Regions from separate parts of the Homo sapiens genome. Here region 2 is linked to region 1. Evidence: promoter capture Hi-C in 16 types of primary human blood cells and fetal thymus (Javierre and others, 2016). All regions are on one chromosome and are shown on one strand. Each heading gives the region's core, a stretch centred on a gene start or on the middle of the fragment in contact. The rest is flanking DNA. Distances are from core to core; before and after follow the strand shown.

Region 1 (6,320 bases), core at 461-2,960:
TAATAGACAAAAAGTGGAAACAACCCAAATGTTCCTCAACAGATGAATGGGTAAACAGAATGTGGTATATTCACATAATGGAATATTACTCATCCATAGAAAGAAATAAAGTTTTTTTCTTTTTTCTTTTTTTTTTTTTTGTTTTAGAGACAGGATCTGGCTCTGTCACCCAGGCTGGAGTGAAGTGGCGCCATCTTGGCTCACTGCAGCCTCCATCTCCTGGACTCAAGGAATCCTCCCGCCTCAGCCTCCCGAATAGCTGTGACCACTGGCACACACCATTACGCCTGGCTAATTTTTGTGTTTTTGTAGAGGCGGGGTTTCACCATGTTGCCCAGGCTGGTCTCGAACTCCTGAGCTCAAGTGATCCGCCAGCCTCAGACTCCCAAAGTGCTGGGATTACAGGCGTAAGCCACAACTGTGCCTGGCCAGTAATGAAGCTTTGATACATGCTACAATATGGGTGCGTTTTAAAACATTATGCTAAGTGAAAGAAGTCAGTCACAAAAGACCACATAATGTATGCTTCCATTCACAGTGTATATGAAATGTCCAGATTAGGTAAATCCATGGAAATAGAAAGTAGAGTAGTGGTTGCCAGGGGTTGGGAGGAGGGAGGTGGGTAATAAAGAGTAACTGCTAATAGGTATGGGGTTTCTTTTCGGGGTGATGAAAATGGCCTAAAATTATGGTTAGGCTGGGCGCGGTGGCTCACGCCTGTAATCCCAGCTTTGGGAGGCCGAGGCGGGTGGACCACTTGAGGTCAGGAGTTCAAGACCGAGACCAGCCTGGCCAACATGGCGAAACCCCGTCTTTACTAAAAAAAAAAAAAAAAAAAAATACAAAAATTAGACGGGTGTGGTGGCGCACGACTGTGATCCCAGCTACTCGGGAGGCTGAGGCATGAGAATCACTTGAATCTGGAAGGCAGAGGTTGCAACGGGCCGAGATTGCACCACTGCATTCCAGCCTGGGTTACAAAGTGAGACTCTGTCAAAAAAAAAAAAAAAATTAGTGCTGATGGTTGGCACACTTTGAAAACATAAACAAAGCCGGAGGCAGTGGCTCACACCTGTGATCCCAGCATTTTGGGAGGTCAAACCAGGAGGATCCCTTGAGCTCAGGAGTCCAAGACCAGCTTGGGCAACACAGTGAGACGCTCGTCTCTGCAAAAACTTTGAGAAAATTAGCCGGGCGTGGTGGCAGGCACCTGTGGTCTCAGCTACTCGGGAGGCTGAGGCGAGAGGATCACTTAAGCCCAGGAAGTCCAGGCTGCAGTGAACTGTGAACTCCAGTCTGGGCGACAGAGCGAGACACCTCAGAAAAAAAAAAAAAAAAGAAAGAAAAAACCGAAAAAGACCACTAGAGGGTACATGTTTAAAGGACAGATTTTATGCTATGTGAATATATTTCAAGTAAAAATTAAATTAACAATTTTAAAAATTGCAGGAGTACGCAGCGCTTATAGAGGTCCCTGCATAACCTAGGGAGCGGGATCGAAACCCAGCAGCACCAAGATACTCTAAGAGCAGGACCAGCCACTGCCCCTTCCGCAGGACCGCCATCCTCGCCACGCCTCCGGGGGAGGGAGGTCCTGGCTTGGAGAGCGATGATTGGCCGAGTTCTAGGACGAGGCGGAGCGAAAGGGGGCGCGACAAGTCCCTCCCGGCGCAGCGAAACCTTAGCTCGCGAGATTTTGTTGGTTCCGCATTTCGGGTCTGCGAGGTGGGGTAGGCGGGCAAGGCGGGCGCCGAGGTTTGCAAAGGCTCGCAGCGGCCAGAAACCCGGCTCCGAGCGGCGGCGGCCCGGCTTCCGCTGCCCGTGAGCTAAGGACGGTCCGCTCCCTCTAGCCAGCTCCGAATCCTGATCCAGGCGGGGGCCAGGGGCCCCTCGCCTCCCCTCTGAGGACCGAAGATGAGCTTCCTCTTGTGAGTGGGGTCGGGCCGCGGGCGCCGGGCCTGCGGGCCGAGGTTGTGGGGGAGGCCTCCCCGGACCTGAGGCGAGGGCTCGGCCTGGGGGCCGAGGCGGGGGCGGGGTAGCTGGCGTTTGTTTTGCCTCTGTTCGGGTCCGCGGGGGAGGCCGAGATGTTGGGAGAGGCCGACAGAGATGAAGGTCGAAGTAAAGGAAACGGAGCGTGAAGGCTGGGGAGTAGAAAGGCCCCGGGGCCGTCGCGCCTCCAAACTTTTCCGCCCGAGCGCCCCCGAGGGCGGGGAGACGATCTGGGGGCGGAGCCGCGAGCCCCCAGTTTCTCTTGTCTCGAGCTTCTAGAAACCGTCCTTGCCGACTTAACTCGTTGCTCGGTTATAGGTCCAGTTTCATTATTGTCGGTGTTAAATGCCGCCCCAGGAGAATGTGCGTTGCCGCAGTTTGAGAAGCTTGAAGTTAAGATGCTGGCCTTGGAGTCGGATCGTTCTGTCCAGTTCTGATTCTGCCCACTTACTGGCTTTGATTTTAACCAACTTCTCTTGTCCTCGGTAGAATCCTGTGTTTTTAATCATTATGTAATATACCATACAGCATTATTATATAGTACATTGCAGTATTATAAATAATTTGGAAAGTTAAAACAAATTCATAGTCCCATTGCAGAAACACAGTATTGCCATTTTAGTGCACTACAGCAATTAACTTGATAGGCATACCTTAGAATCTCATTTTAGAGATAATGCCTGAGCCCAACCAAACAAGGCTAAAATGAAAAAGCTTGTAAATTCCCTGATGATTCTTATGCACATTAAGGTTTGAGAAGCATTGCTCTGGCACAGTATTTTTTATTCTCAGGTGTCTCTCTCTACCTTGTATATTGCTTAAATGTGTGTTTTGTGATTGAATAATTATCCAATTTTAGTTATGGATGTAATCCACATGCTTGACATTTTTATTAAATACAATATAAAAACACTATATAGTTTTTTTTTTATTTTTTATAACCAGAGTTTACCCACTTTATTGTGAGAAACTGGGATTCCTTCCAGTATTTACTATTATAAAATAGCACTACTCAGAATATGTTTATCTGCGTCTCATTTTCCTTCCTTTGGGTTATTCTCGTAAATGAATGGTCTCTAAAATACGATTACCTTGTCAAAAAGCCTGTATGATTTAGATTTAACTTCCATATTAATAGAAGTATTCCTCCCTCCTCCACTTTTTTCTTACGAGTTGATATTTAATTAGTGAATGCACAGTTGCTTTGTGGACCTTAATACGAGACTTTTTCTTTTTTTTTATTTTTTGAGACGGAGTTTCGCTCTGTCCTCCAGGCTAGAGTGCAATGGCACGGTCTCGGCTCACTGCAACCTCTGCCTCCGGGGATGGCACGGTCTCGGCTCACTGCAACCTCTGCCTCCCGGGTTCAAGCGACTCTCCTGCCTCACACTCCCGAGTAGCTGGGATTACAGGCGCCGGCCACCACACCTGGCTCATTTTTGTATTTTTAGTGGAGACTGGGTTTCATCATGTTGGCCAGGCTGGTCTCGAACTCCTGACCTCAGATGATCCACTCCCGCACTCGGCCGAGACTTTCTTTTTTTAAAACTTGGCCTTCTTGATGGACACTTGAGTTGTTCCCGCTTTTTGGCCATTATGAATAATGCTGCTGTGAACATATGTGACAGGTTTTTGCGTGGATGTATGTGTTCATATCTCTTGGGTATATACTTAGGAGCAGAATTGCTGGCTTAAGTGGTAACTATGTTTAACCTTTTGAGGAACTGCCAAACTTCAAAGTGCTGCACCATTTTACATTCCCATAAGTACTCTATGAGGGGTCCAATTTCCCCACACCTCTCATAGCACTTGTTAATTTTCTTTTTTTTTTTTTTTGAGACAGAGTCTTGCTCTGTCGCCCAGGCTGGAGTGCAGTGGCTCAATCTCGGCTCACTGTAAGCTCCGCCTCCCGGGTTCACGCCATTCTCCTGCCTCAGTCTCCCAAGTAGCTGGGACTACAGGCGCCTGCCACCATGCCTGGCTAATATTTTGTGTTTTTAGTAGAGACGGGGTTTCACCGTGTTAGCCAAGATGGTCTCAATATCCTGACCTAGTGATCCGCCCACCTCGGCCTCCCAAAGTGCAGGGATTACACGCGTGAGCCACTGCGCCCGGCCTTGCCTGTTTTTAAATTGGGCTGTCTTTTTGAGTTGTAGGACTTCTTTATACATTCTAGATACAAGTCTTTATCACATCTATGATTTGCAAATATTTTCTTCCTTGTTCAATATAGTTTTTTTTATCATGTTAAAAACTTTTCAGATATGATTTTTAGTGTTTTCATCATTCTTTTTTACCTCCTTTTTTTTTTTTTTTTTTTTTTTGAGACAGGGTCTCACTCTGTTGCCTAGGCTGGAGTGCAGTGGTGCGATCTCAGCTCACTGCAACCTCTGCATCCCGGGTTCAAGCAATTCTCCTGCCTCAGCCTCCCAAGTAGCTGGGATTACAGGCACTTGCCACCACGCCCGGCTAGTTTGTGTGTGTGTGTGTGTGTGTGTGTGTGTGTGTGTGTGTGTAGTAGAGGCGGGGTTTCACTATGTTGGTCAGGGTGGTCTCAAACTCCTGACCTCAAGTGATCCACCCGCCTTGCCCTCCCAGAGTGCTGGGATTACAGGTGTGAGCCACTGCACCCGGCTCTTTTTTACTTCTTAATCAGTCTTATTTAAATTCCAAATTACTCAGGTAAAGTAAAAGTCCATAGTTCTATTCCATTCCTCTTCCTAGAAGTAATCACCAGTTTTGATGAGTTTAGTTTTTGATATTTTCTATGTATTTACAAAATGGGCTCCTGCTGTACGTTTGGTTGTGTATTATGTTTAACCATGTATTAGATCTTTCCCTGTGAATACGTGTACTCTGTCTGGTTTTCTTAACTTCTATACAATATTCCATGATATGGATGTACCATACTTTAATTCAATCCTCTACTGATAAACTTGAGGATTGCTTCTAGGTTTCTCCCTATTAAAAACAATCTTGGAAAAAAATTCTTATCCATATCTAGAGGAGATATTTAGAAGTAGAATGGATGGCTTGAGGAGCTTTTCAGTATTAATAGATACTACCATATTGCCCTCCCAAAATGTTACACTTTATACTTTCACCAGTAGTGTATTAAAATACTAGTTTCTCTGTACCCTAGTCCAGTGGTCCCTAACCTTTTTGGCACCAGGGACCAGTTTTGTGGAAGACAATTTTTCCACAGATCTGGTTGGGGAGATGGTTTCTGGATGATTCAAATGCATTACATTGATTGTGCACTTTATTTCTATTATGACATTGGAATATATAATGAAATAATTCTACCACTCATCATAATGTATAATCAGTGGGAGCTCTGAGCAACTAGACAATCCCATCTGGGGGTAATGGGAGAGAGTGACAGATCATCAGGCTTTAGATTCTCATAAGGCACATGCAATTTAGATCCCTTGCATGCACAGTTCACAGTAGTGTTCACGCTCCTGTGAGAACCTAATGCCTCTGCTGATATGACAAGAGGTGGAGCTCAGGTGGTAATGCCAGCAATGGGGAGCAGCTGTAAATACAGATGAAGCTTTGCTGCTTGCTCACTGCTCATCTCCTTCTGTGGGCTCCAGTCTGTGTCCTTGGGGTTGGGGGCCCCTACCCTAGTCCACATTTAATGTAATCATTTAAACTTTTGACATTCAGATTAGGGAAAAAATAAATCTTACTTTAATTGAACAGTTTTTCTCATGCTCATTGATTGTCATACTTCTGAATTGCCTATTCATCTCCTTAGCCTATTTTTCTAAAGGATTCCTTATATTCTTAACGAGTTACAGAAGCCCTCTATTATCCAGTTCATCCTTTGTAATATATGTTACAAGTACTTTTATTTGGTTACTTGTCTTTTTGCTCTGTTATGAAAGTTTTAATTGATACTATTTGAAATCTGTCCACTTTTTCTTTGAGGTTTCTGAGTTTTGTGCAGGAAGACTTTATGGATGGTGTGAGATAGGAATAAAAACATTTTTTCCTCAATAACGAGTTGTGCCTGTCTCATTTATTTTCCCTATTATAAACTTAAAGATGTTAGTGTTTCTTTTACTGTGGTTTGCTTTCAAGGCGTCTCAAATATTTTGATATAGAATACTGGATTTTTGAACTAAACCTCCCTGCGCCATTTTCTTTTTATCTTCCCCACCCCCCATTCCGCCTTACTATGTTGTCCTGGCTGGTCTCAAACTCCTGGGCTCAAGAAATCCTCCTGCCTTGGTCTCTCAAATGGCTGGGATTAGAGGTGTGAGCGACTGCACTTGGCTCCACCATTTTCTTTTTTCTTTTCTTTTCTTTTTTTTTTTTTTTTG
Region 2 (6,835 bases), core at 3,962-6,461, 300 kb before region 1:
TTATACTTAAAATTCAATTTCCTGGTGGGTTTGTGTCACCTTCCTAACTGCAACATAAGCATAAATAATGAGCCAGGTGTGGTGCGGACGCCTATAGTCCCAGCTACTCGGGAGGCTGAAATCGAAGGACTGTTTGAGCCCAGGAGTTCAAGGCTGCAGTGAACTATGATCATGCCACTGCACTGAAGCCTGGGTAACAGAGGGAGACCCTGTCTCGATAAATAAATATGGCTGGGCATGGTGGCTCACGCCTGTAATCCCAGCACTTTGGGAGGCCAAGACGGGTGGGTCACTTGAGGCCAAGAGTTTTAGACCAGCCTGGCCAACATGGCGAAACCCCATCTATACTAAAGATACAAAAATTAGCTGGGCATGGTGGCACATGCCTGTAGTCCCAGCTACTCAGGAGGCTGAGGCACGAGAATTGCTCGAACTTGGGAGGCAGATGTTGCAGTAGCCAAGATCACACCACTGCACACCAGCCTGGGTGACAGAGTGAGACTCTGTCTCATAAAAATAAATAAATTAATTAATTAATAATAAATAAATAAAGCATGCTCTCTGCCCCATGTCAGGCAGCCTCCTCAGGATGTGCCACTCAAATATATACTGTATTTCTTCTCTCTTCCTCCTCAAACCAGTGTAGTCATCATTAAAAATAAAAAATAAAAATAAATTTAAAAAAATAAAAAGCCGGGTGCAGTGGCTCACACCTGTAATCCCAGCAATTCGGGAGGCCAAGGCAAGCAGATCACTTGAGGTCAGGAGTTCGAGACCAGCCTGACCAACATGGTGAAACCCGTCTCTACTAAAAATACAAAAATTAAGCAGGTGTGGTGGCACGCATCTGTAATCCCAGCTACTTGGGAGGCTGAGGTAGGAGAATTGCTTGAAACTGGGAAGTGGAGGTTGTGGTGAGCCGAGATCTCGCCACTGCACTCCAGCCTGGGCAACAGAGCGAGACTACGTCTCAAAAAAACAAACAAACAGGTACTTCCTTGACCTTCTACTACCTGTCCCCAAACCACAGTCTGTGCTGCTCTCTGAATTCACTACATGGCCACTACATATGATCTGGTCCCCCAATATCATTGTGAATCTTCTCCTATCTTGTTACCCTCCTCCAGCCACAGCAGTGTCCTTGGAAGTTCCCACAACATACCAACTGTGCTCCCATCTTAGGGCTTTGCACTTTACTTTGCCTAGAATGCTTTTTCCCCAGTGAACAGCTCACTCCTTCGTCCTTTTTAGATCTCTATGTAAATGTCACTTTCTCAGAGAGGCCTTCTCTGAACACTCCTTTTTTTTTTTTTTTGAGGTGGAGTTTCGCCCTTGTTGCCCAGGCTGGAGTGCAATGGCATGAACTTGGCTCACCGCAACCTCCGCCTCCAGGGTTCAAGTGATTCTCCTGCCTCGGCCTCCAGAGTAGCTGGGATTACAGGCATGCACCACCATGCCCAGCTAATTTTGTATCTTTTAGTAGAAACGGGGTTTCTTCATGTTGGTCAGGCTGGTCTCAAACTCCTGACCTCAGGTGATCCATGTGCCTCAGCCTCCCAAAGTGCTGGGATTACAGGCGTGAGCCACCACACTTGGCCTGACCACTACTTTTAGAAGGAGAAACTTCCCAACTCCACTCAGCACTCCCTATCCTCCTTCTTGCTTTTTCTTTGTACTTCTCATGTTTGACATACTATGTTGTTTATTTATTTGGTCACTGGTTGCCCTCATTAGATGCTCCTAATTTGTTGAACAGAAAGATTTTGGTCTGTTTGATTTACTGCTGTTTCTCAGTACCTACAACAGTATCTAGTACATAGGTGGTATTGTGTGTGTGCTGAGTAAACAGAGATTGGTGAGGAGGCTATTCCAATAGAGACAGAGCCAGGAACTGTGTGTGAAGAAACATGTGTGACACAGTGAGTGTGAACTTTTTTTTTTTTTGAGACGGAGTCTAACCCTGTCTCCAGGCTGGAATGCAATGGCGCAACCTTGGCTCACTGCAACCTCCATCTCCTGGGTTCAAGCAATTCCCTTGCCTCAGCCTCCCAAGTAGCTGGGACTATAGGCGCCCACCACCATGCCCAGCTAATTTTTTGTATTTTAGTAGAGACGGTGTTTCACCATGTTGGCCAGGATGGTCTCCATCTCCTGACCTCATGATCCGCCTGCATCAACCTCCCAAAGTGCTAGGATTACAGGTGTGAGCCACTGCGCCTGGCCGTGAGTGTAGACTTTATCTTGTCAGTGATAGCAGTGGACTTGATCTGGGGAATGAAACAATCAAATGAAATAGTGCTGAGACGGCCAGGCATGGTGGCTCAAGCCTGTAATCCCAGCACTTTGGGAAGTCAAGGAGGGTGGATCACCTGAGGTCTGGAGTTTGAGATCAGCATGACCAACATGGAGAAACGCAATCTGTACAAAAATACAAAATTGGGCCAGGTGCGGTGGCTCACGCCTGTAATCCCAGCATTTTGGGAGGCTGAGGTGGGCGGATCACAAGGTCAGGAGATCGAGACCAGCCTGGCTAACATGGTGAAACCCTGTCTCTACTAAAAATACAAAAAATTAGCCAGGCGTGGTGGCAGGCGCCTGTAGTCCCAGCTACTCGGGAGGCTGAGGCAGGAGAATCACTTGAACCCGGGAAGCAGAGGTTGCGGTGAGCCAAGATCACACCATTGCACTCCAGCCTGGGCAACGGGAGCAAAACTCCATCTCAAAAAAAAAAAAAAAAAAGAAATACTGCTCAGGGGAAGATGAGGCTATGGATGTAATGTTTAGTTCAGGCCAGATACAAGGAGTCTTGATATAAGGGAATGGCAGCAAGACCAGGAACGGAAATGAGGGGCTTCTGTCAAGAGACATTTAGAAGTAGATTTTAGTGGCCGGCATGGTGGCTCATGCCTGTAACCCCAGCACTTTGGGAGGCCGAGATGGGTAGATCACAAGGTGAGGAGTTTGAGACCAGCCTGGCCAATATGGTGAAACCCCTCTCTACTAAAAATACAAAAATTAGCTGGGCGTGGTGGTGGGTGTCTGCCATCTTAGCTACTCAGTAGGCTGTGGCAGGAAAATTGCCTGAATCCGGGAGGAGGAGGTTGCAGTGAGTAGAGATGGCGCCACTGCACTCCAGCCTGGGCGACAGTGTGAGACTCTGTCTCAAAAAAAAAAAAAAAAAAAAGTAAATTTTAGTGACTAACTAAATGTTTGAGGTAAAAGAAAGGGATATAAAATGATTATCAGATTTCCAGATTAAACAACTAGATGAAAGTTTGTGTTATTAACCAAAATTGGGATTAGAAGAAAAGCAACCAATTTACAAACATGATAAATTAATTTAACAAAAGTTAATTAAATTAACTTTTGGGTTTGAGTTTGAGATTCTAGGGAGTATAGCGCCTCAATGCTTCCAAATCTGATCCTGTCCCTCCTTCGAAAACCCTGCTGTCTACCGGGCATGGTGGCTCACACCTGCAATCCCAGCACTCTGGGAGGCCAAGGCGGGCGGATCACGAGGTCAAGAGATCGAGACCATGCTGGCCAACATGGTGAAACCCAGTCTCTACTAAAAATACAAAAATTAGCTGGGACTGGTGGCATGTGCCTGTAGTCCCAGCTACTCAGGAGGCTGAGGCAGAAGAATTGCTTGAACCAGAGAGGCGGAGGTTGCAGTGAGCCAAGATCACACCACTGCACTCCAGCCTGGGCGACAGAGTGAGACTCCATCTTAAAAAAAAACAAAAAACAAAAAAACTCTGTTGCCTACTTGAGAACATCCAAACCCCTGTGCTAAGTCAAAGCCTTTCAAGCCATCTGCTGCCTTCTCTCCCACCCCATCTTTTACTGTTCCAACCAGATTCTCTACTCTGGTCTCACTTTGGTAAAGTTCTCTCAACTTTTCCTTGTTTTACTGTCTTTGCTCACACTGTCCCCTCCATCTATAAAAAGATATTTTTTCATTTTTTTTTTGAAATGGAGTCTCCCTCTGTTGCCCAGGCTGGAGTGCAGTGGTGTGATCTTGGCTCACTGCAACCTCTGCCTCCCGGGTTCAAGCGATTCTCCTGCCTCAGTAACCCCAGTGACTGGGATTACAGGCGCACACCACCACGCCCAGCTAGTTTTTCGTATTTTTGGTAGAGATGGCGTTTCACCATGTTGGCCAGGCTGGTCTCGAACTCCCGACCTCAAGTGATCCGCCCCCCTAGGCCTCCCAAAGTGCTGAGATTACAGGTGTGAGCCACTGGGCCCAGCTTTTTTTTTTTTTTAGACAGAGTCTCACCGTTCCCCAGGCTGGAGTGCAGTGGCACGATCATGGTTCACTGAAACCTTGACCTCCCGCGCTCAAGAGATCCCCCACCCACCACGCGGGCTAAATTTTTTAAAAACATTTTTGTAGAGATGGGGTCTCACTATGTTGCCCAGGCTGGTCTCTAACTCCTGGGCTCAAGCAATCCTCCCGTCTCAGCCTCCCAAAGTGTTGAGATTACAGGCACAAGCCACCGCGCCCGGCCTCCATCTTTTCCCAAGGAACTCGTACCCACTCCCTAATCCTCAACTCAGAGACCCTTGTCTGCTCAATTCTACCCACTTCGAGCATCTGTTACATCAGGATCATCCTCCTGATCCCCTGCCCCTCACTTGCCTAAGATCCTCAAGGGCATGGCCGGAGACTACAACTCCCCAAAGCCTCCAGAGCCCCGTCTGGCGCCCATCCGTCGCGGGTTTCTGCACAGCTGACTTCAAAGAGGCGTGACCAAAATGAGCAGGACTGGGGGAAACTGAGGGTCGCTTTTACCTCTTCGCCGTAATCCTCTGGACCGAATTCCTTGCAAAGTTTGGGTGCAGCAGCGACCTCCAGTGGGCAGCTGGGCCGTAGAGAGCAGTCTACAGGAAAGGAAGGCGGAGCCTCGTCAGCGGGCTCGGGACAGATGGGCTAGAGTCCTCCCCACTCTACCCTCGACTCTCCGCCCTCTGCATAAAATCCTACTCGAAACGTTCAGACCACAGGTGGACCCAAGAGGGGCTGCCTCTGCCCTCCTAGACCCCCACTGGTCTTGTCATACCGCTCACCTAGCTTGATCCGCCCCACAGTCTTTGGAATCGGCGCCATCGCATCTACAGTGACCCGGAAATGAAAGGTAGTCTAGTATTTGATACCAGCCAAAGGGCGGGGTGGGACAGAGTGGGCGGCCATGTTTGTTAGGGGCAGAAGCCTCCCATTACGGAGCACGAGAGAGTCCATGAAGGTCCCCGCGACTCCCGGACTGGAGAAAACGGCTCTTGCGATGGGGCGAAGTCCGAGCTGCGGCGGGCGTTGGTCCGTGCAGGGAAGTGGGAATCGTTAGGTTCGTTCTGGACCCGCCGCCCCATGGCCCAGGCGTCTCGCTCAGGTAGCCTGCCTCCACTCGTTATCGTGCCCCCGCTGAGGGCGCAACCCGGGGGCACTGGGGAGGAGCAGTGGGAGAGAAGTCGAACGGGCGGTCTTCGCTGGGAGGTTCACTGCTGGCCGAGCGGAACTTCTGGAGGGACGCCGTGGTGGCCGACGCCGGCGGATGTGAGCGAGGACTACGAGGCTGATGCTGCGGCCTGGAGGCGGGGGCCCGCAGGTGGCGGCCCGATCCCTCCCGCGCTGCAGCGTCTCCGGGCGGTGTTGCTGCGGCTGCATCGCGAGCGGGAGCAGCTCCTCCAGGCCCGAGACTGCGCCTACCACCTACAGTCGGCTGTGCGACTCATGAAGACCCTGAGTCCTGGCTCGCCATCCGGCGGCCCTAGCCCCTTGCCCCAGTGGTGCCGCGACCTGCAGCTGCACCCTTCCCAAGGGGCGGTTCTGCGAATCGGCCCTGGGGAGACTCTCGAGCCGCTGCTGCTAGCGCGCCCCATCGGACTAGCCGCCCAGTGCCTGGAGGCTGTCATCGAGATGCAGCTTCGCGCTCTCGGCCGGGAGCCCGCCAGCCCGGGCCTGTCGTCCCAACTCGCCGAGCTGCTCTTTGCACTTCCCGCCTACCACACACTACAGAGAAAAGCCTTGAGCCACGTCCCAGGGGCCGCACGTCCTTTCCCCACGTCCCGTGTGCTCCGCCTCTTGACGGGGGAGCGGGGTTGCCAGGTGGCAAGTCGGCTGGACGAGGCGCTCCAAGGATCGGCGTTGAGGGACCAGCTCCGCAGGCGGTGCCAAGAGGAGGGGGATCTGCTACCAGGGCTGCTGGGCCTGGTCGGGGGCGTGGCGGGTTCAGCCAGCTGTGGACTAGGGCTCGGAGGGGCTGGGGCCTTGTGGAGCCAATACTGGACCCTGCTGTGGGCAGCCTGTGCTCAGAGTCTGGACCTAAATCTGGGACCCTGGAGGGACCCCAGGGCAACAGCGCAACAGCTGAGTCAGGCACTGGGTCAGGGTGAGTGATGGGCTTGGGTGGGCGTTTGGGAAGGCTGGGGTCTCTTCCTTCCCCTTGGCCAACTCACTGACCTGCCATCCTGAAGGCAAAAGCAGGCCCTTTAGAAAGAACACCCCTGGGTTCAGACTATAGCTTCTGAGCTTTCAAGGCAAAGTCTTGCTTTCCACCCCAGTCCCGAGTCTTGGAGGAAGCATGCCTTCTTGCCTCATCATTGAGTGGGCAGGGGTTGTGGAAAGTGAGACCTTGTTTTCAGGCCCCAGAGTCATTTCTCCCACTAGCATCCCTGCCTCAGGAGTGTGAGAAGGAGCTGGCATCTTTGTGTCACAGACTACTTCATCAGTCGCTTATCTGGAGCTGGGACCAAGGTGAGAAGGAAGGGGCACTGGGGGTGACATAAGTCCCAGGTTACCGCTTCCCCACCACACTATACTCTCTCATCCTCA

Evidence for each region. The method cuts DNA at HindIII sites, captures the fragments that hold promoters and counts their contacts. A CHiCAGO score of 5 or more calls a contact.
Region 2: the fragment with the promoter of CCDC142 here is called in contact with the fragment with the promoter of MOB1A in region 1 in 3 of 17 cell types (total CD8 T cells, fetal thymus and activated CD4 T cells); the score reaches 6.2 in total CD8 T cells.

Annotation. Positions count from the first base shown.
Region 1 is chr2:74,174,269-74,180,588 of GRCh38, reverse strand. MOB1A (MOB kinase activator 1A) reads left to right here and starts at 1,710. Exons shown (of 6, transcript NM_018221.5): 1 at 1,710-1,928. The coding sequence starts at 1,915. RefSeq lists silencers at 1,949-2,138, 3,858-4,050 and an enhancer at 2,002-2,685. The HindIII fragment of the contact is 1,935 bases long and covers 443-2,377 here.
Region 2 is chr2:74,481,374-74,488,208 of GRCh38, reverse strand. CCDC142 (coiled-coil domain containing 142) reads left to right here and starts at 5,211. Exons shown (of 9, transcript NM_001365575.2): 1 at 5,211-6,392; 2 at 6,671-6,757. The coding sequence starts at 5,372. TTC31 (tetratricopeptide repeat domain 31) reads right to left here and starts at 5,128. Exons shown (of 13, transcript NM_022492.6): 1 at 5,074-5,128; 2 at 4,799-4,887. The coding sequence starts at 5,113. RefSeq lists enhancers at 4,699-4,808, 5,129-5,668, 5,779-5,898, 5,969-6,068. The HindIII fragment of the contact is 7,623 bases long and covers 1-6,835 here.